Linked DNA regions of Homo sapiens: region 2 is linked to region 1. The links are contacts of gene promoters, found by promoter capture Hi-C in blood cells and fetal thymus (Javierre and others, 2016). All regions are on one chromosome and are shown on one strand. The core of a region is centred on a gene start or on the middle of the fragment in contact, and the rest is flanking DNA. Distances in the headings are between cores, read along the strand shown. Region 1 holds the start of FAM89A (family with sequence similarity 89 member A). Region 2 overlaps TSNAX-DISC1 (TSNAX-DISC1 readthrough (NMD candidate)).

What was found. Contacts are between HindIII fragments. The CHiCAGO score rates a contact against its expected background, and 5 or more counts as called.
Region 2: a contact is called between a fragment that was not itself captured here and the fragment with the promoter of FAM89A in region 1, in 1 of 17 cell types (naive CD8 T cells). The highest score is 6.5, in naive CD8 T cells.

Annotation. Positions count from the first base shown.
Region 1 is chr1:231,036,730-231,041,745 of GRCh38, forward strand. It overlaps FAM89A (family with sequence similarity 89 member A), which reads right to left and starts at 3,525. Exons shown (of 2, transcript NM_198552.3): 1 at 3,192-3,525. The coding sequence starts at 3,482. RefSeq lists an enhancer at 2,203-2,884 and silencers at 2,547-2,626, 3,267-3,316, 3,577-3,686. The HindIII fragment of the contact is 3,223 bases long and covers 1,908-5,016 here.
Region 2 is chr1:231,605,329-231,610,709 of GRCh38, forward strand. All of the region lies in intron 4 of TSNAX-DISC1 (TSNAX-DISC1 readthrough (NMD candidate)), which reads left to right. The region is part of intron 1 of LINC00582 (long intergenic non-protein coding RNA 582); the gene reads right to left. Among named protein-coding and RNA genes, the nearest start is that of LINC00582, 4.1 kb to the right of the region's middle. The HindIII fragment of the contact is 5,541 bases long and covers 991-5,381 here.

The DNA.
Region 1 (5,016 bases), core at 2,275-4,774:
TCAGCTCCAACCATCTCTTCTACTGGCTATCTCCAGACCAAAACCTCTCTTCCAGCTTCCAGCTCCACATTCTGAAATGTTTAACATGCTCTTCAGCTGATGCGATGACAAATTACCTTCCTCCCTAAAGCAGCTACTCCTCCTGACTCCCCAAGTGCCATAATGAACCCCACTTTACCAGTGATTGATTATTAAGCTTCAAAACCTTGCTAACTGCCATACAGTGGTATACTACACACTCACTGAAGTCATTATAATATATCTTGACTGGGAAAATAATTGCAATGTGCAGCCCAAAAAGCAAACCAAAATATATGTGATCAATGTGTTGTATATATGTATGTGTGTGTGTGTGAGAGTGCATGCATGTGCACAGACAGCAGACTGCAATGGTTAAATAGGGCTTTGGAGCCAAAGAGACCTGGTAGGGTCTGTGACCTTATGGGAGTTCAACTCTCAGCATCCAATTCTTTAATATAAAACAGACTTTGAGTATCTATCTCATGGAGAATTTATACCATTAAATAAGATACTATATAGAAAGCACTTACATTGCACCTAACAGAAGATATCCCAAAATACTAAAAGTGATTATTTCTAGGTGCTGGCACTGTAATTTTTAATTTTTTGCTTGGCTACATTTTCCATGAAAAAGCTTAAGTTATCTTTGATCCCCTTTTCATCATCTTCCTTGACTCAGTAATTCCTCCAGCTTCGGCTTCAGAAAAGTGTCTCCCACATGAGTCTTGTTTCACATTAGCAAGCCCCCTACCCTGCTGGGGACTCCATCACCTCTCCCATGAACACCTCTCATCTTCCTGTTGAGCCTCCAAAGTCCAGCTCTCCCTTCTGCACCCTGCTGTAGAATTCATTTCTTCAAAGTCCAACTGGGATAATACCATTCTCCTGCTGAATGCCCATCCTTGCTACTCAGGCTTCTCAGAGTCCACTCGGTCCACCTGCCCAGGCCCTTCTTGCTCACATTTCAAACTGGCGCACTCCCAGTTCCAGCTCCGCAGCTACCTTCCTGGTGCCTCTTTCCCTTGTCGAAATTCTGTCGCCTTCTGAGGTCTTCCACACCACCCTGCTCCCTGTCCCTATTAGAAGTTGCCCCTCTTTCTATGCTTGCTTTAAAAAAAAAAATTTCTTTAAGGCATTTATCACATTCTACCATGACATCTAGTTATGTCCCCTGCCACAGATTTGACGTCAGGCCTTCAATTTAAACAGATCAACACAAACTATTTTGCAGATATCTCAGGAATGAACTCCCAGTTCTTGTTTTGCAAGGCCTCCCCAGAGGGAGTCTCAGCTTGAGTTGTCCACTCAGACCCCATGGCCCCAAGTCAGTAAATCAATTAAAAAGCCGAAAGATTCTCTGGGCAACTTTAAAGGCCTTGTGACATTTCTTGAAAGGAACTTGTCAAAACCTGCAGCCATATCTTATCTTTATCTCAGCTAAATACCAGGCAGACCAAAGATGGCTGTTTATTTTTCTTGTGCTTCAAATAGGCTTACAGAGAGCTCTGGTCCAAGGCGTAATTATACGGATGTGGTTGTGCTTCAGTCACACCAGGAGGGACCTGGAAAAATACTTCTGGGAATGGCACGTTGACTCCCAAGCCACCATAGCAAGACTCCAGAGCATGTTTATAAACCACAGCTTCACAACAGGAGCGGCCCCGAGGTTTTTCTATCTCTTGCTCAAGTATGGAATTTAAATAATCAAAGATGATCTTCCTACTTCACCCCCGTGGTTCTGCTATGTCCAAGTTCAGACTGTAAACACACTACGTGTAGATTTATCTAATTAAAATGCAGTTCACCAGCTGTGTGATGCTTATGTCAATGAATGTTTTTTAATAAATTAAAAACGGTTGGCTTGGAATTTAAGTGGTTCTGTAAGAAGCTTAGAAAATCTTTTCAGTGAGAATTGGAAATCACTTCAATGCCAGCTACAGAGTAGGAAGACAATATCTCTTTGATTAAAAGTGTTAAGGCTGCTTTCTGAATTCAATTAAGTCTTAGTTTTCAGAACAGATAATGCTCCTGAAAAAAAAGTATGCATACCCTGAATTTTTCTAAACAATATCTTAAATGCACTAGATACATATTTAAAAGATTCCTATAACAATTTATTTTTTGGCAAATTTAGTTTTGGGAAAAGGCAGCTTTCCTAATGTTAGATTTCTTAACAATTTACCTATAGGGAAAGGAGACAACCTGGACGAGGTGAATGGAAAGGGAGGCTTTTAAAACGAGGGGATTGGGAGGAGGTGATGGGGGCCAGTAAGATGGTAGAAAAGAGGAAAAGTTTTTGATTTCTTCTTGCCTGGCCTACGCCTGGCCGAGAAAGCTGGGGAAAGACTCGCTGTTGCCTAAATCCCTGCCCTTGTCCTACTTTTAGCGTCACCCTAAATCATGTGTGTTCTGGTCCACAAACAGCTAATGTACTTCCCAAGCACAGAGAAACACTGAGCCCATGGTATGGAGCTTAGACACAAGGCGAAGAACTCACATGGACAGCACCCAGACCGGGAGGACAGCCACCTCCCACCTTTCTCAAGAGGGTTTGGGCAATCAGCTTCGCGGGGCTGAGGGACCCGGCCGCCTCCCTCGCCCGGGGTGCGCGTCTGCTTTCGCAGCCATCTGTGCGCCGGGGCCATCCCGCGGTAATCGGATCACGGACGCGCGGCCTGGGGCGCCGGAAAGGGGGCCGGGCTGTTCCAATCTGCTGTCTACACTGGCGGCGGACAAAAGTTGTCCTCTTCGTGGTAGGAAAACGCAATCGCGTTAATCCGTTGGGCCGCTGTGAAAGCCTTTCCCCCACCGGGAAGGTCTGTTTCACTCGGGGAGAGGTGACAAGGCCGCCCCCGCCCCCAGGCCAGGCACGAACCCCGCACAGCGCTTCCGGGCGCCCAGGTTTCCGAGCCAGCGGGGCCGGACTGAGGGCGCCGGGCATAAGAAAGCCGCCCTCTGCGCGCGGGGCTCTCCCGCGGGGGTTCCAATCGTGGGCACGGAGCACGCGAGAAAAATGGGGGTCGTTGGGAGGACGGCGCCGGCGCCTGGGGCGGAGGAGCCCGAAAGGGCGGGTGGGCGCGGGGACTTCCGGACAGAGCGCGGTCCCCGCGAACTTTCCCGGGACGGCGAGCCCGGCCGGGAAGAGCCCCAGCTCGCGGAGCCCCACTCACCATCTCTTTGCGGAGCAGCGCCAGAGCGGCGTCCAGGTTGGGAGGCTTGGCGGGCAGCGCTGCCGCCCGGGCCCCGCCGCCGCCCGGGCCCCCGCGGCTCAGCTCGTCCTGGATGCGCGACTTCTGCGCGTACAGCCGCTCCAGGTGCCGCCAGCCCCCAGACGCGCCGCCGCCCGACGCCGAGTGCAGCAGCCCGCTCAAGCTCTTTGGCAGCGGGGGCAGCCCGTCCACCCGCAGCCCCCGGACCGCGCCGTTGCCCGCGGCCCCGGGCGCCGCCCGGGCCCCACTCATCGCGCCGCGGCCCGGCCACGCGCCTGCCCCGCTGCAGCGAACCAAGGCTTTCCCCCGGCCCGCCCCCTTCCCGGCGGTGCCCCGCCCACTTCCCCTCCCGCGCCACGCCCCCCCGGCCCCGCCCCCTCTCCTCGAGGCCCCTGCGCGGGCCCCGGGTCCGGGTGGCGTCCGCGTCCAGCAGCCGGGCTCGCCTCCACCCGGGTCTCCTCCTCCCTCGCGCCCCTCCAGCGCCCTAATTCATCTCCAACTCCGCGTGACTACCCTCTAACCCCCCGACTCACCTCCAGCCCCGTCACGAACCCTTCTGTGCCACTCCCTAGCTCCGAACCTACTAAGCCCCCCGCGACCCGCAGCTTCCCGGTTCACCCCCATCTCTGTCCCCACCTCCTCTGAACCACCTCCCAGCTTCCCGGCTCACCCCTAGCTCCGAACCCTCTCACCCGCGCCACCCCGAACCCCAGCTTCCCGGCTCACCCGCATCTCTGTCCCCACCTCCTCTGTGCCAACCCCCAGCTTCCCGGCTCACCCCCAGTTCCGCCCCCACGCCCTCTGTGCCACCCTCAGCTCACTGGCTCACCCTCAGCTCCGAACCCACTCACCCCCCACCCCAGGCTTCCGGATCACCCCCATCTCTGCTCCCACCTCCTCTGTGCCACCCCCAGTTCACTGGCTCGCCCCCAGCCCCGTCTCCACTCCCTCTGTCCCACCCCTCAACGCCCGCTCACCTCCAACCCGGCTCCAGACTTCCCCCTTACCTGCCAGCGCTCCTCAGCTCCTTGCCTCACCGATCCCTGCCCTGCCCAGGGGGCGGCCCAGCTTCAGATCCCACGAAGCAGGCCGTTGCAGGGGGTGGGGGTACCGAGGCTCTGGCTCACAACCGGCAGGACGTCGAGGGCAGGAGGCCTGGCTCTGGTCCCAGGACCCCCGGCCCTCCCCGAGGGCGGAATCCAGCCCGCCTCCTGCTGCCTCCCACTCGCCGCGGGGGGCGGCTGGGGGCCCCAGACCCGGGCAGGTCGCTCCTTGCCGCCGGGCGCGCTGGCCTTCTCAGCACGGCCTTGTCCAGCAGTACCCGCAGCAGTCAGCAAGAACGCCAGACCCACTTTTGAAACTTCAAAACACTAGTAAACATGCCTTTCATTCTGGCCATAAACACAAGAGTAACTCTAAGTGGAAATGTCAGGAAACCAGAGAAAGGGATTAAATCTCGGAAATTATCCATCAGCTCAGGCAAAAATAAACACGACGCACACCTCAGAGGAAAAGAGAAGAGAGAGAGAGACTCTGCCCCTCCCAGGAAAAGTAAAAATGACAGGCAGTTATAACCAGATTAGAGATAGAAAAGATCAAGAAGTAAACGCTACAGCCCAACCGCAGATTAAAAACTAATGCAGTGTATAGATTGGATAACTTTAATGCCCATTCATTATTGGCTTTAATTATAAAGGGATTTAATTTTCTAGCTACATTCAAGGGGATCAAAATTATAAAGTGTTCTGAGCACTTCAGACACCCAACATAAAAGAGCCCTGCACTT
Region 2 (5,381 bases), core at 2,511-5,010, 570 kb after region 1:
GTTGTGTAAGTTTTGCAGTAGCACAGACTGCATTTTTAGCTCTGACACAGTCTTCGTGATTTTGGACAAAAACTAGACTTTCAGACTCGATTCCTTGGTGCATTAGTTTGCTAGGACTGCCATAGCAAAGTACCACAGACTGTGGCTTAAACAGCAGAAATGTATTGTCTCACAGTTCTGGAGGCTGGAAGTCTGAGATCAACGTGTTGGCTGGGTTGGTTTCCTATGAGACTGCTTCTCTTGGTTTGCAGGCAGCTGCTGTCTTGATGTGCCCTCACGTGGTCACCCCTCAGGGTGTGTCTGTGTCCTGTGTCTGTGGCCTCATCTCCTCTTCGTATACGAATATCAATCATATTAGATTAGGGTCCACCCTTAATGACCTCATTTTAACCCAATTGCCTCCTTAAAGATCCTATTTCTAAATACGGTCACATTCAGAAGCACTGGGGCTTAGGGCTTCAGCACTTGAATTTTGGAAGTCACAACTCAGCTCATAGTGCCTGGCTTGGGAATATGGCTAATAATTTCGCCTGGCAGAATTGTGCAGTTGTGAGGTCATGTTTAGAAAACTCCTGGTGTGATGCCAAGGTGCACAGTAGCTGCTCAATGAACAAGCTGTTATTCCTACTTCAGTTTGGATTTTGAATATCAGATTTCCTTAAAGTGAGGAGCCCCTATAACAGAATCCAGGGATTTTTAAAATATTGGATCAAAATGCCATTCAGTCAACTAGGACCTGACACTAATCTATCTCATTGCATCTTCTCTGGCCTTCATGCTGCACCAAGACACTGCACGTACTAAATGCTCCACTTTTAGGAATGCTTAATTGTCCTGTCTGGGTCCACTCACTCCAGTTACTCCAGCTCACCCTGGGAGGCAGTAAGCCATCCCAAGAACCATGGTTAGGACCATAGGTCCTGGAGTCCCCAAGATGTCCAGCTCCATTGCTTACATCCTAGACATAGGCATGGTATTTAACCTCTTTAAAGCTTCAGTTTCCCCATTTGTGAAATGGGGGTAATTGCATCACTACTAAATCTGTAGCATTCTTTTGAGAACTGAAAAAAATGGTCAAAGTAAAGCCCTTGGCATAATGGTAACAGACAATAGATAAGCTCTTAATTTTAAAAAATGTTTAAAAATTTTTTCGAGACAGGGTCTCACTCTGTCTCCTAGGCAGGAGTGCAGTGGTGCTATCACAGCTCACTGCAGCCTCGAACTCCTGGGCTCAAGTGATCCTCCCATCTCAGCCTCCCGAGTAGCTGGGACTACAGGTGCTGGCACCATACCTGGCTAGTTTCGTTGATTTTAATTTTTTGGCAGAGTCTCGTTATGTTGCCCAGGCTTGTCTCAAACTCCTGGGCTCAAGCGATCCTCCCGCCTCATCTTGGTTTCCTGAAATGCGGGGATTAAAATATAAACCACCGTGTCTGGCCGGTAAACTCATTACTGTTGGCTTTTATTATGATTTTTATTTGCCTCCCAGTACCTAGGTATTTAATTATAAGAGGAATGCCCTTTCAGAATCCCTGTCATAGTATTGCAGTTAGCAGGGCTAGCTCCACTGCATTCCTGAGAAGTGATGCTTGGGAGGCTGATATCTCTCCTGCATCCTGCTGCTGCCCTATAAAGGAGGAGGGCAGTGGGGCTCAACTCCCAGCCTGCACACCTCCTCCTCTTCCTTAGCTTGCTGATCTTTCTCTTAAGGGCTTTTTCCTCCCTCTGCCTACCCCGGTAATGACTACCCTCTTTTCCATTTTTTTTAAACTTTTATTTTAGGTTCAGGGTTACATGTAAAAGTTCGTTACATAGGTAAACTCATGTCACAGGGTTTTGTTGTACAGATTATTTGATCACCCAGGTATTAAGCCCAGTACCCAATAGTTATCTTTTCTGCTCCTCTCCCCCCACCCACCCTCCACCCTCAAGTAGACACCAGTGTCTGTTGTTTCCTTCTTTGTGTTCATAAGTTCTTGTCATTTAGCTCCTGCTTATAAGTGACAACATGTGGTATTTGGTTTTCTGTTCCTGTGTGACTTTACTAAGGACAATGACCTCTAGCTCCATCCATGTTCCTGCAAAAGACATGATCTTGTTCGTTTTTACGGCTGCTTAGTATTCCACGGTGTGTATGTACCACATTTGCTTTATTCAATCTGTCATTGATGGTCATTCAGGTTGATTCCATGTATTTGCTATTGTGAATAGTGTTGCAGTGAACATTCGCGTGCATGTGTCTTTATGGTAGAATGATTTATATTCCTCTGGGTATACACCCAGTAATGGGATTGCTGGGTCAAATGGTAGTTCTGCTTTTAGCTCTTTGAGGAATCGCCATACTTCTTTCCATAATGGTTGAACTAATTGACACTCCCACCAACAGTGTATAAATGTTCCCTTTTCTCTGCAGCCTAGCAGCATCTGTTATTTTCTGACTTTTTAATAATAACCATTCTAACTGGTGTGAGGTGGTATCTCACTGTGGTTTGAATTTGCATTTCTCTAATGATTAGTGGTATTGAGCTTTCTTTCATATGCTTGTTGGCCGCATGTATGTTTTCTTTTGAAAAGTGTCTGTTCATGTCCTTTGCCCACTTTTTAACGGGGTTGTTTGTTTTTCTCTTGCAAATTTAAGTTCCTTATAGATGCTGGATATTAGACCGTTGTCAGATGCATAGTTTGCCAGTATTTTTTCCCATTGTGTATGTTGTCTGTTTACTCTGTTGGTAGATTCTCTTGCTGTGCAGAAGCTCTTAAGTTTAATTAGATACCACTTGTCAATTTTTGCCTTTGTTGCGATTGCTTTTGGTGTCTTTGTCATGAAATCTTTGCTCATTCTTTTTTTTTTTTTTTTTTTTTTTTTTTTTTCAGACAAAGTCTCGCTCTATCGCCCAGGCTGGAGTGCAGTGGCACAATCTTGGCTCACTGCAACCTCCGCCTCCTGGGTTCAAGCAATTCTCCTGCCTCAGCCTCCAGAGAAGCTCAGACTACAGGCGCACACTGCCACACCCAGCTAATTTTTTGTATTTTAGTAGAGACGGGGTTTCACCATGTTGCCCAGGCTGGTCTCAAACTCCTGAGCTCAGGCAATCCACCTGCCTCAGCTTCCCACAGTGTTGGGATTACAGGCGTGAGCCATCGTGCCCAGCCTCTCTGCCCATTCTTATGTCCCGAAGGGTATTGCCTAGGTTGTCTTGTGGGATTTTTATAGTTTTGGGTTTTACATTTAAGTCTTTAATCCATTGTGAATTGATTTTGTATATGGTGTAAGGAAGGGGTCCAGCTTCAATCTTCTACATGTGGCTAGCCAGTTATCCCAGCACCATTTATTGAATAGGAAGTCTTTTCCCCATTGCTTGTCTTTGTCTAGTTTGTTGAAGATCAGGTGGTTGTAGGCATGCAGCATTATTTCTGGGCTCTCTATTTTGTTCTATTGATCTATGTGCCTGTTTTTGTACCAGTACCATGCTGTTTTGGTTACTGTAACCCTGTAGTATAGTTCAAAGTCAGGAACCATAATTTCTCTGGCTTTGTTCTTTTTGCTTAGGATTGCCTTGGCTATTCAGGCTCTTTTTTGGTTCCATATTATTATTGTTTTGGAGTCTCACTCTGTTGCCCAGGCTGGAATGCAGTGTCACAATCTTGGCTCACTGCAACTTCTGCCTCCTGGTTTCAAGCGATTCTCCTGCCTCAGCCTCTCAAGTAGCTGGGATTACAGGTGCATGCCACCATACCTGGCTAATTTTTGTAATTTTAGTAGAGACGGGGTTTCACCATATTGTCCAGGCTGGTCTCGAACTCCTGACCTCAGGTGATCCACCCACCTCAGCCTCCTAAAGTGCTGGGATTACAGGCATTGGGCACTGCGCCTGACCCCATATTAATTTTAAAGTAGTTTCTTTTTTCTAGTTCTGTGAACAATGTCATTGGTAGTTTGATAAGAATAGCATTGAATCTGTACGTTGCTTTGGATTGTATGGCCATTTTAATAATATTGATTTTTCCTATCCATGAGCATGGGATGTTTTTCCATTTGTTTGTGTCTTCTCTGATTTCTTTGAGCAGTGTTGGAGATCTCTCACCTCCCTGGTTAGCTGTATACCTAGGTATTTTATTCTTTTTTTGTGGCAATTGTGAATGGGATTGCCTTTCTGATTTGGCTCTCAGCTTGACTGTTGTTGGTTTATAGGAATGCCAATGATTTTTGTACATTGATTTTGTATCCTGAAACTTTGCTGAAGTTGTTTATCAGCTGAAGGGCTGAGACTCTCTGCCTAATTATAACCATGTTACAGTATCTGAAAGAACCTTCTCTTGGCTGGGTGCAGTGGCTCACGCCTGTAATCCCAGCACTTTGGGAGGCCGAGGCAGGGGAATCACCTGAGGTCAGGAGCTTGAGACCAACCTGGCCAACATGGTGAAACCCCGTCTCTACCAAAAAAAAAAAAAATTAGCTGGACATGGTGGTGGGCGCCTGTAATCCCAGCTACTCAGGAGGCTGAGGCAGGAGAATCTCTTGAACCCAGGAGGCGGAGGTTGCAGTGAGCAGAGATCACGCCACTGTACTCCAGCCTGGGCGATAAGAGCAAAACTCTGTCTCAGAAAAAAAAAGAATCTTCTTTTTCTCTTGCTTTCCATTGACAATTCCTCCCCACACTTTCCCTCCCTTCTCTGCAAAACTTCTTGAAAGAGTAGGGAGTATGCTGAACATTTGCTTCTGTGCCATCCATATCCTCCTTAGCACCTTCACCTTTTCAGCCTGCTCCTGGAATTCTACCTGAAACAGCTCCCTTGAAGCAATTCTTCTCTTTTGCCTTCCTACTTGTTCTGTCTTTGCAGTTTTTATTGCCCAATATCTCCCCCCTCACCCACTTTTTTTTTGAGACAGGGTCTGGCTCTGTTGGCCAGGCTGGAGTGCAGTGGCGTGATCACAGCTGACTGAAGCCTTAACCTTCTGGGTTTGAGCAATTCTCCCATCTCAGCCTCCTGAGTAGCTGAGACCACAGGTACATGCCACTGAGCCAGGCTAGTTTTTATTTTTATTTTTTGCAGAGATGGGGTCTCCTACATTGTCCAGATTGTTCTTGAACTCTTGGCCTCAAGCAATCCTCCTGCCTCAACCTCTCAAATCCACAGTGCCCAGTCCCACATCTCCTTTTTGAAACTATTTTTGTCTGGTTTTCATGACTTTGCTCTGGATTGTCACAAGACTAGTAAACTTCCGCAGATGTCTCTAAGTCTCTAACTTGATACTACACTTCTGGAGTGTGGCAGGACCTGGGACATGAACCCAGCTTAGACACAGGGAGGAAGTTGGTGTAAAGAAGGGAACGGGCACAACTGGAGCCAGGGGCCTGATTGGGAAGACTTCTTGGGAG